Linked DNA regions of Homo sapiens: region 1 is linked to region 2. The links are contacts of gene promoters, found by promoter capture Hi-C in human tissues and cell types (Jung and others, 2019). All regions are on one chromosome and are shown on one strand. Each heading gives the region's core, a stretch centred on a gene start or on the middle of the fragment in contact. The rest is flanking DNA. Distances are from core to core; before and after follow the strand shown. Region 1 has its middle 10 kb from the start of TNRC6B-DT. Region 2 holds the start of PDGFB (platelet derived growth factor subunit B).

The links. Contacts are between HindIII fragments. The study calls those that stand out against the background at their distance.
Region 1: a fragment that was not itself captured here is called in contact with the fragment with the promoter of PDGFB in region 2 in 1 of the 25 tissues and cell types used here (lymphoblastoid cells).

Annotation. Positions count from the first base shown.
Region 1 is chr22:40,052,074-40,057,488 of GRCh38, forward strand. It overlaps a transcript of TNRC6B not described here. Among named protein-coding and RNA genes, the nearest start is that of TNRC6B-DT, 10 kb to the left of the region's middle. The HindIII fragment of the contact is 4,520 bases long and covers 1,634-5,415 here.
Region 2 is chr22:39,243,732-39,248,558 of GRCh38, forward strand. It overlaps PDGFB (platelet derived growth factor subunit B), which reads right to left and starts at 1,251. Exons shown (of 7, transcript NM_002608.4): 1 at 170-1,251. The coding sequence starts at 232. The HindIII fragment of the contact is 11,810 bases long and covers 1-4,827 here.

The sequences.
Region 1 (5,415 bases), core at 2,644-5,143, 810 kb after region 2:
CTGGTCTTTTGGCTACTATTCCCCTCACCTAGAACCAGCTTCCTTATCCAAATGTGCCAACCTTCCTTGCCAAGAAACACAAGGGGACCCCAAGATCAAAGGGGGACCCTAAGATTAAAATTTAAGTTCTCGTCATATTCTCTGAAAACTTTTAACAATTTTTTTGGTGTCATTGTTTTTTTCATATAGTGATTACTTACGGTCTTTACCAATTTGCGTTATAATCAGAGGTAATATTACAATATTTAACAACAGATAAAGCATGAACCAATAAGAATCGGTGTCTGATGAATTAGAATTGATGGCAGCTGTACACAGCCTCAGTGTTCTCATTTGTGTGTACCTGCTTAATAGCAACGCTGTGTATTGTATTTTTTTTTTTTTTTTTTTTTTTTTTTGTTGAGGCAGGGTCTTACTCTGTCACCCAGGCCGGAGTGCAGTGGCATAAACATGGCTCATTGCAACCTCCATCTCCTGGGCTCAAGCAGTCCTCCCACCTCAGCCTCCTGAACAGCTGGAACTACAGACACGCACCTCCACACCTGGCTCATGTTTTGTAGAGATGAGGTCTCACTATGTTGCCCAGGCTGGTCTGGATCTCCCAGGCTCAAGCAATCTGCCTGCCTTAGCCTCCCAAAGTGCTGGGATTACAGGCGTGAGCCACCATGTCTGGCCTGTGTATTGTTGACTTCCCCATAGGACTGAGTTTCTTGAAGGCAGGCATTTATCTTACCCGCTTTGTATCCCTAGAACAGTTTCTGACCAGTTGTGTAGTAGTAGGCAGTGTGTAAATGTTTTAAATAAATGAACAAATGTTACCTTCTATTCTCTTTTATTCTTTTTATGTGCTATGCTTTGTCTTTCTAGTTAGAAACTGAAATGTAAGTCCTTTGAGTACAGAGATCATGAATTACGAAGGTGTATATGGTATATTTGCTTGGTTGTCTTCATGGGAGCATTTCACCATCCTCTGAATGTCGATTTGTGCTTTCTTTTTCCCCCAAACCACCTTATTGAGGTATGACTGACATACTAAAAGCTTTAGGTATTTAACATATACCACTCGATGTGTTTGGAGATTTTCTTTAAAAAAAAAAAAAAAAAACTATGTTTAGATATTGTTATGGATTTTCAGGTTGGGTCATTAATGAAGTTTGACAGTTTTAATAAGACTGACTTTCTTTGTGGTTTATAAACAGGCTCCGAAAGCAGCTTCAAAAGTAGAGCTCCAAAATAGTTCCATAATTATTGTAATTAATGCAAGTCTTCCAGAATTCGGGCAGAGTTGGAGAGTCTCTGAATTAGGAGTCAAAAGTCCTGGATTCATTTGTATTGCTGACATTTGCTTGAGTGCATACTGGGTGCCAAGCGCAGGAATGACTGAAAATTCAAAAACTACAGTATGGAAAAAAAAATACCCCTTTAACACACAGGTGAAATGGTTAATTCTTCCTAGGAAGATTGAATTTCTCTCTGTTCTCTTAGACTTTACTCATTTCTGACATAGACTACATTATATCATGTTTCTTAATCTGTCTCTCCTGCTGGATTGCAAATTTCTTAAGTGAGACTATTGTAGTCATCTTTGCATCCCTAGGCACATACTGTACTGTGTCTGTCATATCGTAGACACTCAAATGTTTGTTAAATAAATAACTTGAAGTAAGTTACTTAGCTTTGCAGAGTCTTAGTTTTTTCTTTTGCAAGTAGGAACTTCTCTACTTCAGAGAATTGTTGAAACTGTAGTGAGAATAATCTTTTAAAACTACAGATGTGTTCTGTGTATATCTTAATTTAAAACATTTACTTAAAAAGCAAGTGTAAATCTGATCATATTTCTCCCCTACTTAAAACTGTTAATAACTGGGTGCACAGGCTCGTGCCTGTAATCCCAGCACTTTGGGAAGCTGAGGTGGGTGAATATCTTGAGCTCAGGAGGTCAAGACCAGCCTGGGCAACATAGCAAAACCCTGTCTCTGCAAAAAATACAAAAATTAGCTGGGCGTGGTGGTGCCTGCCTGTAGTCCCAGCTACTCAGGAGGCTGAGGTGGGAGGCTAGCTTGAGCCTGGAGGCAGAGGTTGCAGTCAGCCGAGATTGCGCCACCACACTCCAGTGTGGGTGACAGAGTGAGACCCTGTCTCAAAAACAAAACTGTCAGTGAGGCCTAAAGACCCTGATAAGAACCTGAATTCTTGTTCTTGCCTTTTTCACTGACTGCCCAGTGAAGCTTCTGCCAGCGTCCCCTGCCTCTTTTCCTACTGTCTTCCCCCTTGCTGAGTGTACTCTCACCATACTGACCCTCTTCAAGTTCCGGAAATGTGTGTTCTTCACTACCCAAGGTCCCTTCCTTGAGCATACTATTCTCACAGCTGGAAGCCCGCAGGCCCAACCTTAGTTAATGCCTCTTCAATCCTGAGCTCAGTGTGTGTGTCTCCTCTTTAATGACTTCCTAATCACCCCGCCCCACATTAGAAGATATCAATTGTATAATTATTTAATTTGTATATTATATTTCCCCTTCTGGAAAATAGCTACATGAATAAAAATACTCTGTTTTATTCACATTTGTGTCACCAACATCTAGCACTGTGAGTTGCACATAGTAGGTCCTCAATAAATATTTTTTCAAATGAAGTTAAGAAAGAGAATTTAAAATAGAATTTCTAAAAAACCTCATTTTAGGCAAAGCTTGGTGGCTCATGCATGTAATGCCAGCACTTTGGGAGGCCAAGGCAGGCAGGTCACTTGAGTCCAGGAGTTCGAGACCAGCCTGGGTGACATGGTGAAACCCATCTCTACAAAAAAAAAAAAAATTAGCTGGTTGTAGTAGTGCGCGCCAGTAGTCCCAGCTACTCGGGAGGCTGATACAGGAAGGTTGCTTGAGCCCGGGAGGCAGAGGTTGCAGTGAGCTGAGATTGCACCATTAAGCTCCAGCCTGGGTGACAGAACAAGACTCCGTCTCCAAAAAAAGAAAAGAAATTATGCTTGGGCTTGACATGATGACGCTCTCACTAAACATTTGAATGCATAGACATGCTGAATGCTGTGCTAGGAGCCAGGACTACAGAGGTGGGGCGAAAGGAGATCTTTGTTCCCAAGGAATGCACAGCCAGGTGGGTGAGACAGATGTGGACACAGATGAGTGCCATTTAGTGTAATAAGTGCTGTAATAGACAGTACAAGAGGTGCTGCGGGGATGAAAAGGAAGGTCATCAACACGATGGGGAGGTTGAGAAAGCCTTCCCAGGGAAGGTGACACTCACACTAAGTTGTGGAGGAAAAGGGCATTTCCGGCAGAGAGAACAGCCTGTGTAGAGGCATGGGGGAGCGTTTTTAGTATGTGGAGAAGATGACCGGCACAGCGGTATGCTTTACAAGGCTGGCATTAGGGTACAGGGCTAATAGCTGACTTACAGTTGAACCATGATATGTCAGACTCAGCCTCTTACTCCACTGCAGTTTAGGACAGGAAATGACCTTAGAATAATGATCTGAATCTGTATGTTTGAATTCATAAAGGCATAGAGTACCATTCAGAGAAGATAATCATAAACCACAACGGCACTTGTCACTTCTAGTTAATATACTTGCTTCAGTGGTGTACCTATAACCATGCAAATGATGTTAGGTGGAATTAGAAAGTGGTGACTCATTTAAGCTTATCTGTAGGAGCAGAGAGTGTAAAGGAAGTGACTTCTAGATCACCTGAGGTGAGTGCTGATACCATCTCAAATGGATCAGACACTGAACCAGTGAAAGAGAGGAAATCAGAAAAGAGGACTACCCAGAAGGGCCTCTGGTATATGTTCTGGGAAAGACAGTTCCTACAGCTTGAAGGTCTTTACATATCTCCAAGTCTCCAAGTGGTTCACTGAGCTAACATTAATCTAATTTAATTCTCAACCAGATTTGAAAAAGGGAGATTAATTGGATAAAAATGTAGCCCATTTTCCTTCATTTACTCCTATTTGTTTTCAATGTCTCTTTCCTTTTCTGTCTCCTCCTATCCATTTTTCTCTCCCTGTTACTCTTAAGTAGTGTCTCCTTTCCCCATCCACCCCATCTCTAGCCATCTTCCATTCTATTTCCGCTAAGTTGCTTTCAGTTGCAGGATGTCCATACCTTGTTGGCTAAACTAATGTTTCTCAGCTTTGCATATTCAGAGCTTGATATTTTTCAAATGGGAAGAAGTGATTATGCTCTGGTAGTGCTGATTACACTCACAAGATGTTAATTGACTTACGGTAATGCCGATTTCTGCAAGTTCTGTGTATGTATTTGATCTACATAACAAAGGGCTAAGGAGCTAAGTGATGATAGGGAGAATGGTAGTAATGAATGCAGTTTAGTTTAAGATGTTTGGAAGAGAAAGGACAGAGAAAAATGGAAGCAGGACGAGGTTGAGAAGGCAACACCTTTAAGTAAGATAGAAAATCAGGCTGGGTGCAGTGGCTCATGCCTGTAATCCCAGCACTTTGGGAAGCCAGAGTAAGAGGATCACTTGAGGCCAGGAGTTCGAGACCAGCTTGAGCAACATAGTGAGACCCCCATCTCTACAAAAAATGTTTTAAACATCAACTGAGCATGATGGCACATGCCTGTAGTCCTAGCTACTCAAAAGGCTGAGGCAGGAGGATTGCATGAGCCCAGGAGTTGGAGGCTGCGGTGAGCTAGGATTGCATCACTACACTCCAGCCTGAGAGACAGAGTGACACCCTGTCTCAAAAAAAAAAAAAAAAAGAAAGAAAAATCTATAATCTATTAAAAGATATACAGGAAGCACCCAGCGGAGAAAGAAAAATGGAAGTTGCTTGAATAGAGATGGTAGCAGATTTGATGGGGCAAGGCCACCAGATTCCTCCCATGGGCACAGGTAGACTATATTCATTGGAAGTTCCTTGTAGTATCTCAACAGAGTAAGAAGTCGTCATGGGTTCTCATCTTGGATACCTTGAGCTCAAAATGAGTTTATGCTACTTTGTTTTGTCATGGCACCCACTAGAATGGTTTGCACATAGTAGGTGTAAACAGTCGAGATAAAGTCACAGGATTGAAAGATGATACTGATTATACCTTTAAACTTCTTACCAGGTAACACTATCTGTGGTTTATGACAAGGGAACATGTTTATTAATCCTCTTGTGAATAGTACAGTTACATTGAATTTTTTTCCTAAAGGTGTTGATTTATTAAATGTGTACATTGAAAATATGCCAGGTTTTTTTTTTTTTTTTTTGAGACAGAGTTTCGCTCTTGTTGCCCAGGCTGGAGTACAATGGCACCATCTCGGCTCGTCGCAACCTCCGCCTCCTGGGTTCAAGTGATTCTCCTGCCTCAGCCTCCCGAGTAGCTGGGATCACAGGCGTGTGCCACCACGCCCGGCTAATTTTGTATTTTTAGTAGAGACAGGATTT
Region 2 (4,827 bases), core at 1-2,500:
CTGTCACCCCCGGACCTCGCTCCCAGCCCGAAGAGGTCACCCAGCGCCCGGCGTCAGGCTCGCGGGCTGCAAGGGTCCAAAGTTCACTGCAGGGAGAGGAGGGGGCGGTCAGAAGGGGGGGGCGAAGGTAATGAATGAAGAACCAGCCCCAGCCGCCGTGGCAACTCACCTCGGCGCTGACCAGACGCAGGTAGCAGCAGAGAGACAGGAAGAGCGCCCAGCAGCGATTCATGCCGACTCCGGGCCCGGCCCCGCGGGGCCCCGGACGCGTAGATCGAGCGCGCCGCCCCCGCGGCCAGGGTGGGGGGCTGGGGAGGGGGGTGGGCTCGGCTCGGGTCCGCGGCGATCAGGCGCTCAGGCCTCTGCAGCCGCGGCTCACCCGCATGGCCCCCGGGCGCCGCCGCCCCCGGCCCCGGCTCCGTCGCTGGGGGGCAGGGGAGGACCTGGGCGCAGGACCTGGGTCCGAGGCCGCTACCTGGGCGGATCCCGAGCCCGAGTGAGCATCCACGGCCGGGGGGCTGCGTCGCGAACCAGCCGAGGCGTCTAGCCGTGTGGGGGCGCCCAGGGGACTCCAACCTCCAAGAGGAAAAGGAACACGGCAGTCGATGGTTCGTCTTCACTCGCCGGCTACAGGCGTTTTCCTCTGCCCGCCGGCTTAGCTTTTTTGCAACATTTTCTGGAAAGGCCCCCAAAATCGGAAAGCGCGGAGCTGGGCACCTCAAGGCCCAAGTCTCCCCCAAAAAACTTTTTCCAAAGTTGGCTTTGCAACGGCAGCTCGAGCACCCGGGCAGGGAGAGGTGCAAACTCCCGCCCGGGCCGGGTAGGGGGGCGGGAGCGTGTGCGCCCTGGCGCGGGGCCCGGGCGGCGGGCACGGCTGCTCCGCGCGCGCGGCGTGCCCGCTGCGCGCTCGGCTGGGCCCGGCCGACAGGTGGACGCGGCGCGAGTCCGTCGGTCCGTCTGCCCGCCCGCTCGCCGCTCTGGGCGTCCTCTGCGGGCTGCGGGCTGCGAGCTGCGAGCTGCGAGCTGCGGCTGCTCCGGTTTTCTCTTTGCAGCGAGGCTGGAGGGTGGGCTTTTTTTTTTTTTTTTCCTTTTTGCGCGCGTATGTATGTGTGTGCGCGCAAAGTATCTCTATCTAGGGAATGAAAAATGGGCGCTGGCGGCCGGAGGGGAGCCCTAGGGAGGCAGCGGGGGAGGCTGCGGGTGCGCAGGGAGGCAGGCAGGCCGCTCCCGGCTGCAGGAGGAGAAGTTGCCACCCTTTCAGCTGTTCCGGCCTTTATAAAGGAGAAGGGAGAGTGCGAGAGGTGGGTGGAGACAGCCTTTCCTCTTCTGGCCCGGAGTCAGCGCCAGGAGGGGGGGGACGCGGGAGCTGGGGGAGGGCTTGGGGCCAGGGCGGGGCGCTTAGGGGGTCTCTGAGAGCCGAGCAACCCTTCAGTCCATGAATCTGGCCCTGGGGAAAAAAGAACTAGGGGTGACCCACCGTCCCGCCCCTCAGCACAGTGACCATGGACAGGTTAGGAGCCCACGTGGTCTAGGGGGATGTCTCCAGAGCCAAGGCCAGGAGTCCACGCTCCCCTCCAGGACCAGACATTTCCACCCTGGCACAGGCATGGCAGGGAGGGACTCAGGCTCTGCAGTCTGAGAGCCTGAATTCAGATCCTGCCCTGGCACTCGGGAGCTTGGGTCACCTTGGGCAAGTCACTTCCCTCTGTCCCCTCCATCTAGCCTCAACCTGGAGATGGGGCTATTGTAAGGACTCAGTGTTAGCAAGGGAAGACACCGCAAGGTGAACCCACAGAACCCGGCAGCCAGCGCCCTTCAGCTGCAAGCTGGGTCCGAGTCTCCTCCTCCTAGCTGGTTGCCTGGCACAACAGGCCCTGCCAGCGTTGGCTGAATTTGAATTTGTTGAACTGCAAAGTCACACAAACCCCCACAGCCCTGCAGCATCTTCGCAGGGCTACCAACATGATCTTCCCGTCAGTCACCCTGCTGTTTACTATCTCCCTCAGCCCCCGGGTTCGAGGCCCAGAGCCCACCCACCCACAACCAGCCTTCACACAGTTAACGCCTTCTGCCCCCAGTCAGGGAGCTGCTGTGTCCCTGCCTTCAGCAGTCACACTGTCTCAGTCACAGTCACACGTACTCACACTGGGCCCAGCACCCCCCTCGGGACACGCAGGCTCCTGCATCACCCAGCCTCCCGGCTTTGAGGCACCCTCATCTCCTCCGCTTGCACTGTCTCTGTTATCCGCCCTTCCCTTTGGGATGTCAGCCTGCTTCTCACAGAGGAGCACACTGAGAGAGTCACACCTGCTCTCTCTTCATAGACTGTCTTCTTGGACCTGGACAGGGTGGAACAGAGGAGGAAGGACATCTCAGGTGGTCTTTACAGACCACTGCAGGCACCCACCCACTGCTGCCTACCACCCAGCAGCGTGGCACAGTGGCAGAGACACAGCCTGAAGACACATCACCTTGGTCCAAATCCTGGAGTGGCCACTTGCTGGACAAGTGTCTGCAGGAAGGTTTTTTAACCTCTCAGTACCTCGGTTTCCTCCTTTATAAACTGGAGATGAATTTATAAACTGGAGCTGGGTGTGGTAACAAGCTCCTGTAGTCCCAGCTACTCAGGAGACTGTGGATCGTTTTGAGCCCAGGAGTTTGAGGCTGCAGTGAGTTGTGACTGTGCCACTGCACTCCAGCCTGGGCAACAGAGCAAGACCCTATCTCTAAAGAAATAAAAATAAATCTATAATGGGAAGGAGTGAGAGAGAACAGAGAGGCATGGCAAAATTTTAGTGGTGATGGAAATGTTTGTCATTTTTGATTGTGGTGATGGGCTTATGGGTGTATACGTACATCACAACAAAATGTGTGCAGTTTGTTGTACCTCAGTGCAGTTGTAGAGAATTTTTACCCTGCTCCTGGAGTGGTCTGGAGGCTCCCATGAGGTCCTCCATGTGGAGGCGCTCAGCAAAACACCTTAGCAGGAAGCAAGCGCCTGGAACCTTCCATGCAGCCTTCAAGTTCACTGGTGGCCCCGCACTGCTCCAGGCACTGGGGAGACAGGTGTGAACCAGCCTAATGCAGGCCCCTGCCTTTGAAGAGCCCCATTGAGAAGGACAACCAGATGTATAAACAGATAAATTAGGAGACAGGGTGACAAGGGAGATGGGGCAGCGGGACGAGGAGATAACCCCCAAACACTAGATTTGAAGTCTAACGACTCAGAGATAAAAACCCTCTTCCACCGGACAGCTGGGTCATTTGACCTTGACCTTCTGTGTCTTCTATAAATAGAATGGTAACAACTACCATGATTAGTGAGCTGACTATGTGGTAGCTAGTGTTTTTCTTACTCTACCTGTAGCCTCTCCATGCTCCTGTGAGATGTGTTATTCCTATCTTACAGATGGGGAAATGGAAGCACAGAGAGGCCAATACACTTGTTCAAGGTCACACAGCCCGTAAGTGGTAAGGCCAGGACTTGAATCTGAGCAGTCCAGCTACAGAGCCCACATGCTGAGACCACCGTGCTGTGCAATTTTCTGGCAGGTGATGCTGATGACAATGATGACACTTTTGACACAGCGCTTTGGTGAGCGCCACATGCATTAATATGTGGGAACCTGCTCTGCCAGCTAAAAAGTGATGGACCCATATGAACTCTGACTTAGGTACAAGTTGAGGGAGAGGGAAGGCTACTCAGAGCAGCATCGTAGAACGCCTACTGTTTGCAGACCCTGTGTGAAGCGCTGAGAAATGGAATGAGGAAGGAGTCCCAGCCTCGGCACTCAGGGACTTCCCATGCTCTCAGTGAGATAGACCCAAATCATTGCAGTGCAGGTGCCAGTACATGGGTTAGAAGTGGCAGAAGAGGGCCCAGCAGACACCTGGGCCTGAATGCTACGTGACACCTGCGTGACACCTGGGCCTGAATGTTGTGCTAAGGGCTCCTTTCTTGTACCTTCTCTGTGCAGAGGAACAGTCTGTAAAGAACACCTCCCCAGGCACGGTGGCTCACCCCTGTATTCCCAGCAATTTGGGAGGCTGAGGCCAGAGGATCATGTGCAGCCAGGAGTTCGAGACCAGCCTCAGCAACATAGCGAGATCCCATCTCTTAAAAAAAATTACCAAAAAAAAAAAAAAAAAAAAAAAAAAATATATATATATATATATATATATATATATATATATATATATATATATATCTGAGTGTGGCCCCAGCTACTCAGGAGGCTGAGTCAGGAGGGAGAATCCCCTGAGCCCAGGAGTTCAAGACTGCAGTGAGCCATCTCAGAGACGGGGTCTCGGTCTGTCGCCGAGGCTGGAGTGCCGTGGTGCGATCTCTTCTCACTGCAACCTCTGCCTCCCAGGTTCAAGCGATTCTCCTGCCTCAGCCTCCCGAGTAGCTGAGACCACAGGCGCCTGCCACCATGCCCAGCTAATTTTTGTATTTTTAGTAGAGACGGTTTCACCATGTTGACCAGGGTGCTCTCGATCTCCTGACCTCAAGTGATCTGCCCCACTCAGCCTCCCGAAGTGCTGGGATTACAGGCATGAACCACCACACCCAGCCTAAAAATTTTTTTTTAATAACACCTGATCGTCTGCCTCCTGCCAGGCTGGGTGTAGCAGGCACCTCCTCCAGAAGGCCCACCAGGCTTGGCACTTGTTCCAGGCTCCACAGCATGCACACCTGGCATCGTCATGGCCTGATCATCAATCTAGCACTAGACTGAGTCCAGAGTGTTCAAGGGCCTCCTGCCAGCTCCTAGCATACAGTGGCTGCTCAGGAAGTGCCGCTCGCTGAAGGAATGAATAAATGAT